Regions from separate parts of the Homo sapiens genome. Here region 1 is linked to region 2. The links are contacts of gene promoters, found by promoter capture Hi-C in human tissues and cell types (Jung and others, 2019). All regions are on one chromosome and are shown on one strand. The core of a region is centred on a gene start or on the middle of the fragment in contact, and the rest is flanking DNA. Distances in the headings are between cores, read along the strand shown.

Evidence for each region. The method cuts DNA at HindIII sites, captures the fragments that hold promoters and counts their contacts. A contact is called where the count stands out against the background at its distance.
Region 1: the fragment with the promoter of C10orf95 here is called in contact with the fragment with the promoter of PITX3 in region 2 in 2 of the 25 tissues and cell types used here (aorta and heart right ventricle).

What each region holds. Positions count from the first base shown.
Region 1 is chr10:102,449,125-102,453,854 of GRCh38, forward strand. C10orf95 (chromosome 10 open reading frame 95) reads right to left here and starts at 2,419. Exons shown (of 2, transcript NM_001363580.1): 1 at 2,262-2,419; 2 at 713-2,023. The coding sequence starts at 1,969. The coding sequence ends at 1,328. C10orf95-AS1 (C10orf95 antisense RNA 1) reads left to right here and starts at 693. Exons shown (of 3, transcript NR_038938.1): 1 at 693-898; 2 at 1,063-1,206. RefSeq lists silencers at 1,254-1,333, 1,374-1,863 and an enhancer at 2,386-3,068. The HindIII fragment of the contact is 10,367 bases long and covers 753-4,730 here.
Region 2 is chr10:102,238,809-102,243,738 of GRCh38, forward strand. PITX3 (paired like homeodomain 3) reads right to left here and starts at 2,704. Exons shown (of 4, transcript NM_005029.4): 1 at 2,525-2,704. It also overlaps a transcript of GBF1 not described here. RefSeq lists a silencer at 2,566-2,855. The HindIII fragment of the contact is 21,724 bases long and covers 1-4,930 here.

The DNA.
Region 1 (4,730 bases), core at 1,169-3,668, 210 kb after region 2:
GAGCCACCGCGCCGGGCGGAGACATTCATCTTAACTTCCAATTAGGCCGGGCCGAGACATTCATCTTAACTTCCAATTAGGCTGGGTTACTTTTACGCCTCTTTTACTGATGAAGAAACTGAGAGTCAGAAAGCCTTAAGTTACACAGGTAGAAAATGTCAGAGCCAGCCCTAAACTCAGGTCTCAGACATCCCTCTCCTAGTGAAGCCTTCCACACTTCAAAAATAGAGCTTATGCCCTCAGCATCTCGGAGGGTGGTGGGCCAAAGGACCAAGGAGAGTTAGAAGGTGCTGGCCTGCACACTTGGAGGGAGATGGTGAAGAGGGCAGCTGGGCCCAGCGATCAGACACATGCTTTCTCCAGAGGGCCAGTTCAACTTCACGCCCCTCCACCCTACCTTCCTGTACCCCAGGGTGGGCGGTAAGACTCCCATTAAACAGATAAACAGATGGAGAAACACCACCCCAAAACATAACAATGATCTCGCAGTGTATACTTGACTTCGCTCATTTATTTATTGTTTTTTTTTTTGTTTGTTTTTGTTTTTGAGACAGGGTTTCAGTCACCCAGGCTGGAGTGCAGTGGTGCGTTCGCGGCTCCTTGCAGCCCCGCCCTCTCGGGCTCAGGTGATCCTCCCATCTCCGCCTCCCGAGTAGGTGGGACTACAGTAGTGTATCAGCACACCCGGCTATTTTTTTTTTTTTTTTTTTTTGTAGAGACAGGGTTTCGCCATGTTGCCTAGGCTGGTCTCCAACCTGGTCTCCTGGGCTCAAGCGATCCGCCCGCCTCGGCCTCCCACAGTGCTGGGATTCCAGGCGTGAGCTACCGCGCCCGGCCTATTTACTTTTCTTACTAAGCTGGGGATCACCGTCGCCCTCGGCTTGGCAGGAAGGCGGGGGTAGGGGAGCGGTGGGAAAGGGGGGTGGGCGACGACTCTGATAGAGGGAAAAGAGGAAGGGAAAGTTGGGGCTTACTGCAGGGCAAGCTCCTTAGGAGAAGGTGGGGAGGAGGAAGGAGGGAGGTCCAGGCCCTTCTTCCATCCCACGTCCTCCACTTCCCAAGGTGCAAGAAGAAAAGAGGTACAGAACACCCAGAGGTGCCCTCGATTCCGTCTTGCACTTGCCCTTCTCCCACCGTCCAGCAATAAAGCGAGAGAAACAAGTGCAGGAAACTGGCCGGCAGTCATGGGAGAAGCCAAAAAGACAGGTGAGCAGCGCGTCCGCCTCCCGCGCACAGGTGAGGGCTCACTTCTGCCTGTCGGCGGCGGCACACACAGGAAAGAGCCAAGCGCGTGCACGCGGGCCCGCCCCTAGGCCTTGCGGCGGCTTCAGCTCAGGCCCTTGCTCTTCCTGGGGCGGCCGCGCTCCGCGGCTTCCCGGGCTGGGCTGCTGTCGCCGCTGTCGGGCCGGCGCCGCACGCGCCACTCCACGCGGTGGTCGGGCTCGAGCACGCGCGGCGTCGCCTGCAGCAGGAACTGGCCGCGGCGCTGGGTGACGCGCACGTCGGCGCGGGGGTAGGTGCCGTACGCGCGCCGCAGCTCCCGGCGCACGAAGTCCGGTAGCTGCAGAGGGGGGCCCCGCGCGCGCTCCACGCGGCCCCAGCGCAGCTCGGTTTGCAGGCTCCCGCCCTCCGGCCACGGCGCCCAGCTCTCGGCCACCGCCGCGGGCGCCTGCAGCGACAGTCCCGAGATGCCGGCGGCGGCGCAGGGCCGGCGCAGGGTCGTGGCGTAGGCCGGAGGGCAGGCCCACCAGGGCGGCGCGGCCTCGGGTGGCGCGGCGGGGCCGTAGAAGCGGTGGTATTCCCGTGGGGCCGCCCACTCGCCCGCATGCAGGCTCCCGGGCCGGCTGCGGAAGCTGTGGGCCTGGACTGGGGGTAGCAGCAGAGGGGCGGCCAGGTAGGTGCAGGTGAGCAGCTGCGGCGGCGGCGGCCAGACGCCCTGTTTGGGCGGCGGCCAGCTGTACACATACATGGTCGGCCCCCCAGGCGGCTGCTGTTCTTACTGGGGGCTCCTGCGGATCCAGACCTGCGGCGGAGGAAGGGATATGTAGACAGACTTTCTACTTAACCGCCTCCTGTCCCTGTGGGCCGGTTCCCCGGGACGCCGGTTCATGGCTTTGGGGGAATTCATCCCAAATCGAACATTCAGCTCCCCGCCTAGCCTCTTGTCCCAAGGTCGGGCAGAGCCTCAGGCTCCCAGCAGACAATAAGGAGCCTTTTCAAGCCCTCCGCCGGGATGCTCTTCCCAGTGACTCCCCACTCACTTGTCTCCTTCAGCCTTGGGGAGCCGGCGGGATCCAGAGCGGGGCTCCTCTCCGCACTTTGTAGCTGCGTTGCTCCGCTCCATGCCCTGCCTCAGCCACTCCTCCTGGTTACCAGGCAAAAGGAAACACCTTGAGCTGGCCAGGAGCTACCAGCGTCTGTCTACACCTGGGTGAGCCGTACTGGTCGTAGTGGCCCCACCCTACAAGGATGCCCTTCCTACAGTATTACTGATGGCTGTCTAATCCGGTTAGCTCCCAGTCACTACACCCCAGCCTCCCAGCGCCTGCAGGTGGATTGGGTTATCCTCACATTTGAGTGAAACTCCTGCACACCAGACACTGAATCGAGTTGTCTGGGAGCATCTAACTGCAAGTTATGTCGATCCGAGGAAGGGGGGTACTGATATTACCCCTGCTTTCCATAGCAAAAAGCTGCTTGCCTCACAGTTGGTGTCCAGTGTATTCAGTGACTGGAGCTTATGTAGGTTAAATAACTCATCCCAACTCACACAGCTGGCTATAGTAAGGGCAAAATTCAACCCCCAGTCTGTCTCAAGACTCAGGCTCACAATGTTGGTCTTATTGCCCACCTGTGCAGGAGCTTCTCGCAGACTGTCTCGAAGTCCTCCCACTCTAGAATGTTACATAAGCGCTTTAATTTTTTTTTTTTTTTTTTTGAGATGGGGTCTTGCTCTGTTGTCTAGGCTGGAGTGCAGCGGCATGATCTCGGCACACTGCAGCCACCGTCTTCCAGGTTCAAGCGATTCTCCCACCTCAGCCTCCCGAGGAGCTGGGATTACAGGTGCACCACCACCTCCTGCTAATTTTTGTAGTTTTAGTAGAGACGGGGTTTTCACTATGTTGGCCAGGCTGGTCCCGAACTCCTGACCTCAGGTGATCCACCCTCCTTGGCTTCCCAAAGTGCTGATTTTACAGGCGTGAGCCATCGCGCCCGGCTGCTTTAAATTCTTTTCTTCCTTTTTTTTTTTTTTTTTTTTGAGACAGAATCTTGCTCTGTCGCCCAGGCTGGAGTGCGGTGGCACGATCTTGGCTTACTGCAACCTCTGCCTCCCAGCTTCAAGCGATTCTTCTGCCTCAGCCTCCCAAGTAGGTGGGACTACAGGCGTGCCCCACCACACCTGGCTAATTTTTGTATTTTTTAGTAGAAATGGCGTTTCACCATATTGGCCAGACTGGTCTTGAACTCCCAACCCCGTGATCCGCCCACCTTGGCCTCCCAAAGTTTTGGGATTACAAGGATGAGCTACTGCGCCCGGCCTACTTTAAATTCTTAATAGCTATGTGAAGTGCATAGTGATGTCATGCTCTTTTAGTAGATAAGGAACCAGAGGCTCAGAGAAGTTAGGCCACTGTCCCAGGTTCACACAGCCTGTAAGTACCACAGTGGAATTTGAACCCAGTCCAACTGATGTCAAAGGCCAGAAGCCATTTGAGTGAAGGCAGGAAGATTGCTTCATCCAGATGGGGTGAGCCCTGTCTGAGTTCCAGTCCCTTCTGGTGTGGGTCACAACCCCTGCACCTCTTCCTTCTCCAGTGGGGAGAGTGGTAGTTATGGATGATTAAAACTGAAACCGTCTCCCAGCTGCAGGGCTGCCATGTTGCCACACTTTCCTTCCCCATCTCCTGTTGACTGAAGCAGTATCACCAGCAGCCCTGACAGAAAGGTTCTTCTGGGTTCTCAGTATCCCTCAAAACTCAGCTACCCTCTGGTGGTGGCCACCATTTGGTGACTCACCCTGGTGATGTCATGCTATTCGTGACTGAGCCACTGCTCCAAGTCTTAATTCGGGCCAGTCCTTTTGAAGGCAGGTGCTGGGGCTGGGCTGTGGATGGAAAAAAGGGGCCTGGTTAGGGTTTCATTTGGACTCTAACACTGTCATAGAAACCCAGATTCAGGCTGGTGAACCTGATGCACAGCTAAGGCCAAACAGTGGGAGATAGAGAAAGGTTTATTTGATTTGGCCAAAGTGAGAAGGCGGGAGAGCAAATCTCTCAAATCCCTATTAACAGAAAAAAAGCAGCAGGGTGGCTTACACCTGTAATCCTAGCACTTTTGGAGGCTGAGGCAGGTGGACTGCTTGAGCTCAGGAGTTCGAGATCAGCCTGGGCAACATGGTGAAACACCGGCTCTACAAAAAAAAAAAAAAAAAAAAACCAGGCATGGTGGCATGTGCCTGTAGTTCCAGTTACTTGGGGCGCTGAGGCAGAATGATCACTTGAGCCCAGGAGGTCAAGCCTGCAGTGAGCTGTGTTCATACCACTGCACTACAGCCTGGGTGGCAGACTGAGAGCCTGTCTCAAAAAGCAGCAGGGAGTTTTTAATGTGACTAAGGAGTGACGGAGGGGGCATTTCAGGGAACCCAGGGTAAAAGTCTGTGTTTCTTCAGTCTCAGATAACCCCTTGAGCCACCAGACTTCTGGGCATCAGCAGCTGGTCACAACGTCCTT
Region 2 (4,930 bases), core at 1,454-3,953:
CTCTTTCCATGCCTCACTCCCTCCACCCTGTAGCCATTTGTGACTCTGACATGTGCTGATCCTTCCAAACCCTGAAGGATTCCATTTCTACTTCCTGCCTCTATCATCTCTCTGGAAATGAGCTCTGGAAGTATGCTGCCCACTGTGTGCCAAAGAACATTTTTCTATTCATCCTGAGCTTGCATCACTCCAGTTCTAAAAGGCCCCCTCATCTCCAGTTTCAAGATTTGGGGAGCAAGCAATTCTTCTGCATATCTAGGTCTTTTATTATGCTGTAGATTTCCATCCTGTCTCACCTTCCAGAGGACTAAACTTTGAAATTTGCCCTCACCAGCAACCCCTGGCTCCCCATTCTGCCAATCATTCTCTGACCCTACTCTAGGCCCATGACATTCTTCCTAAGAGCCAGTGACCAGGCATGCGTTCAGTTACAAGGCTTTATGCAAGGGTGGGAAAAGGTTCTGTCTTTTGTTTCCAATCACCTTCATTATGATACCACCTCTTTGGCCTTTTTGGCAAAAGCCAACTTTGAGCTAAAGTCTTCAGGGAACCATCTGTAATGCTTTCCCTGTTCCTTTCCTGACACAGAGTCCTTCATTTCACCTATAATTTCAGTGATTTTATGGGAGCACAGCAATGGGAGCACAAGCCCCTGAAAAGTGTATCAGAATGTGATGGGGATAATTGTGGTGTGTCTTTATATTGATCAAAATAGGGCAAATGAAAAACAAAAGTTGAGAATCCTAGCCAGTAATAAGCAAACTTTAGAACTGAGGAATGGACATGGGAGTATGGGGAATACGTATTGTATGTCACTCACAGGTGAAGGGTAAGAAAGGTTGAAACCACTGTTTAGATTACTCATTGCTAAATACAATGCCTTGCACTTGTCCTTGTGAAAACTCAGTCCCCAGCTGGGCTATCTTGCTCACTTATATGGACTCGTTCTCCCTGTTCTGTCCTCTTCAGCATAATTGAGCTGTGGTTAGAATTGGGGTCAGGGTGGATGGTCACTGTATGGGCCCAGCAGAGTCAGGGCTGTATCCCAGCTGCAGGGAAAGTAAACCCGGCTGTTAGGTAGGGCCAAGATATCCTTCCCAACCAGACTGAGAGGGCCAGATAGCCCCCTGTTGGACTCCAGAGTCTGGATTCCATGAGCCTCCTTCCCACCTCCGCTCAGCCACCAGGGTGGTGTTGGGACTGGTAGGGCTGAGGAAGAAAAAGGGAAACAGGACCACAGGATTTGCTTTGCTAATGGGGCTGTAGTTTTCTCTTCTGGCCTGGGCTCCTGCCCACTGTAGGGAAGGAGCCATTGGTCGCCTGATACTCCAGCAAGGAGTCTGGGGGGTGTCTGGTTAATTGTATTGGAATTAGGGGGCAACTGAGGCTGCCAGGGGCTTGTACCCAGCTCCTTCCTGTTTTCCCATTGCCTTTTGTCACCTATTCCTTCCTTTCCTGGTCTTGATTCCCACTAGCAGGCTCCTCATTGGCCTTCTGTCCTCAAATTTGGATTCTGGAAGTACAGAGTGATGCTCTGATCTATTCTGAATTGAAGGGGGCATGTGTCCCAGCCCACCTCACCCCAAGGCCAGGTTGTAGCCTTTACTCTCGCTCCCTGCTCACAGCTTCGCAGCCCGAAGGAGCTGAAACAAGTTTGCAAAGTGTGAGCTGGGATTTGAGGTGACCCACCGCAGCCGACCCCATCGCACACGCAGCAGCTGGGCAGGCGCTGCTGGGTAGACGGACATGCCACCCAGCCAGGGACATTCTGTCCGCCACTGCCAGACACAACTCCCGCTCCGGAGAGACCCACTTCGCTACCCGGACATTCTGTCCGCTCCGAGCCCCATGCACCGCGGACATTCTGTCCGATTCTGAGGCGGCCTCAAGTCAGGACCCTTCTGGGCCCAGACACCCCAAGCCAGATCCACTATACCCGCCGCCTGGTCACTCTGATCCGCACAGCGGCCATCTGACTCAGTCGCGGCCGGGCTCTCACAACACAGCTCCTATTCCAACTGCGGAGCAGCTGGGAAGAGAAGCGTGTGCGACCAGGCGCACCCCGGCTCCCAGCCCCAGGAGTCTGAGCCTAGGCCGAGGGGCATCGGGCGCCGTCAACTGCCCCCACACTGGGGGCCGCCCCGCCAGCTCCCCCGCTGGCCAGGGCCTCTGTAACCCCTTTCGCTCCCTGGCCGCCTGCCCCGTGCCCTGGGATTCCAGGGCGCTTTCTGGTAATGGTTTCCAGACTCCCTACTCCCTGCCTCGCGAAGCCCCTATCCTGGTTTCAAGTCTCCGGCTTCGTTCCGGATCCTCTGAGTCTCCCCCTTCCCTATCCCCTGGTTCTTACCCTGAGTTTCCCTTTTCCCAAGTCCTGGCCCCAGGTCTGCAGTCCGCCCTCCCATTCTCGACCTGTTCCCAAGGCACCGGAGTTCAGCTGCCCCAGGTCTCGTTTTAGGGATTCCAAGGTCCAGCAATAGCTCCTCGGCCCCATGAGCCCCTGTCCTTAGAATGGTCAAACACTCACAGTGCGTCCTGCAACAGGCAGACTCCCAGTAGCGGCGGCTGCGGCGGCGATCTAGAGGGCAGGCAGGGGCCAGGGGCCGGGCACCCGGCCGGAGTGGGGGCCGCCCCCCTGCTCCCGGGCCGCCTCTCCGCTCGGGCGCTCCTGGACTCTCGGAGGGAGTGAGCCTCACCGCGTACTGCCACCCCCAGCCGGCGCCCATTCACTTTATGGCAGACCAGGGCGCCCCCAGCCCGCCGCGGCGAGCCGCGCGCGTCAGGCCCCGCCCCTTTCCAGCTGCCCTGCTGGGGCTCCGCCCTTTCCAGCTGTGGATCTCCAGGCCCCGCCTTTGAGGGAGGGGTCTGGCCGGCGAGACGCCAAGAACCCCGCCCTCTGGCCAATCAGAAGCGCTCTTCAGCAACTCGGCCGCGCCCCTCCCCACGTGGCAGAGACCGCGCTCCGGCTAGGACGCTTAGGCAGAGCCAAGTGGGCGAGAGTAGAGTGGTCCCGGTAGCCACGGGTAAAAGGGATCGGCTGGCAGCGAAGTGGGTTGGGCCGCTACCCCGAGGAAAGTGGATCGGCGCCAGGTGGGAAGGCGCACGGGGCCGCCGGGTCTCAGCGCTCAGACTTCTCTGCCACTCAAGTTTCGCCGATTTTCTCCACTTGTCGCTGTCCGTCTCTCCTCCCTTTTGTCTCTGTTCCAATCCTCCCACGTCTCGCCTTTCTTTCCTCTTCTTTCTCCTCAGCCGCTTCGCTCCTGCTGTTTACCATTCTCCTTCCTCTGCCACTTTAAAAGACTCATTTCTCTTTCTCTCTGCTCCTCTTTCCTCATATCTTTCCTCTTCTTCATTTCCCCCTTCTTCTCCAAGGAAGGTGACTTCGTGGAGACAGCAGGGTTTGGAATGATACAAACCAAAGTAGTATTCCAACGCTGCCACGAACTGCACCATCACTGAGTGAACTTGGACGAGTAACTATCATCTCCCTCCCCGCGCAAAACAATTAAGAGGAGGTTCCTGCTGGATCTCAGGGCTTGGGCTGGGCACTCCAAAGGCATTGCCTTTCAGTCTGTACCCTTGTCTTGCTTAGGCTGTGCTCTCCCTCCTTCAGCAGGGCTGGTTTCCCGCTGGTGGTACCAGGTTAAGTCCTGTGGGCAAGGTGTGGCCTTGGTGCCTGCTGGTTAGGAATTTGCAAGGGACAGGACAGATGACCAAGGAACATCCTGGCAGACTGTGACTTCGGCCCTCTCTGACTTAGGCCTCAATTTCCAGGAAACAGGCTCCTTCTCTTCTCCCAGTTAGGCTATGTTGCTTGGGTGCTCCGAAGAGCCTAAGCCCAGGCCAAACACTGTGGCTCATGCCTGTAATCCCAGCACTTTGGGAGGCCGAGGCGGGCGGATCACAAGGTCAGGAGATTGAGACCACCCTGGCTAACACGGTGAAACCCCATCTCTACTAAAAAATACAAAAAATTAGCCGGGCTTGGTGGCGGGTGCCTGTAGTCTCAGCTACTGGGGAGGCTGAGGAAGAAGAATGGCGTGAACCCAGGAGGCAGAGCTTGCAGTGAGCTGAGATCGCGCCACTGCACTCCAGACTGGGCGACAGAGCAAGACTCTGTCTCAAAAAAAAAAAAAAAAAAGAGCCTAAGCCCAGTCACACAATATGCCCCTAAGGCAAATCTGAGCAGTCATGTCTTGACTGTTCAGTGACTCCCATTGCCCTTAGGATAAAGGTCAAGCTCCCTAGCCTGGCATACAAGACCTTCAGGACCTGACCTTGTCTTCATCTCCAATTTCCTAGTAGTGTCCTGCACACCTCTGGCCCTTCCTGTGAAAGTAACCCATCTTTATATTGTCAATTCCTACTCCTCCAATGTTCCACTCAAGTCTTATTTTCTCTGGGAAGCCTTTTCTGAACTCTCAGTTTAGCCCCTTGCTCTCATGACCCTCAGTGTATACCTTCTATTACACCACCCACCATATTGAAGGGATCAGCTTATGTGTTGTCTGCTATGATAATAAAATTTAGGAGGGTAAGGACCATGTCTGTTATTCCCAGGCATAATGTAGAATCTCAATAAATGTCACACTGAAATCTATGAGGAAGATGTTCTGCCTGGTAAGATGATGATTAGTGGTTAGGAGGGACTAGGGAATTGTCATCTCTCTCCTCCCCATCTCTATTGCACAATCACATGCTTTTAGAATGATGAATTTCTGGAGGTATGTAGAAGTAGATATTGGCGAGCAGAAATTTTTGGCCCACTTAGAGGATTTTCCAATCGGCTTTCCAGGACCTCTCAATCTGAGACAGGCCCAGGACACCAACTCTCAGTTTTCAAATGAAGAGGAAAATGGCTTTGAGGTAATGTGGAAAGAGGTGCTATGATGGTATATCCTCTTTCCCTGACTCTCTTTGGGTGATAGAGGCT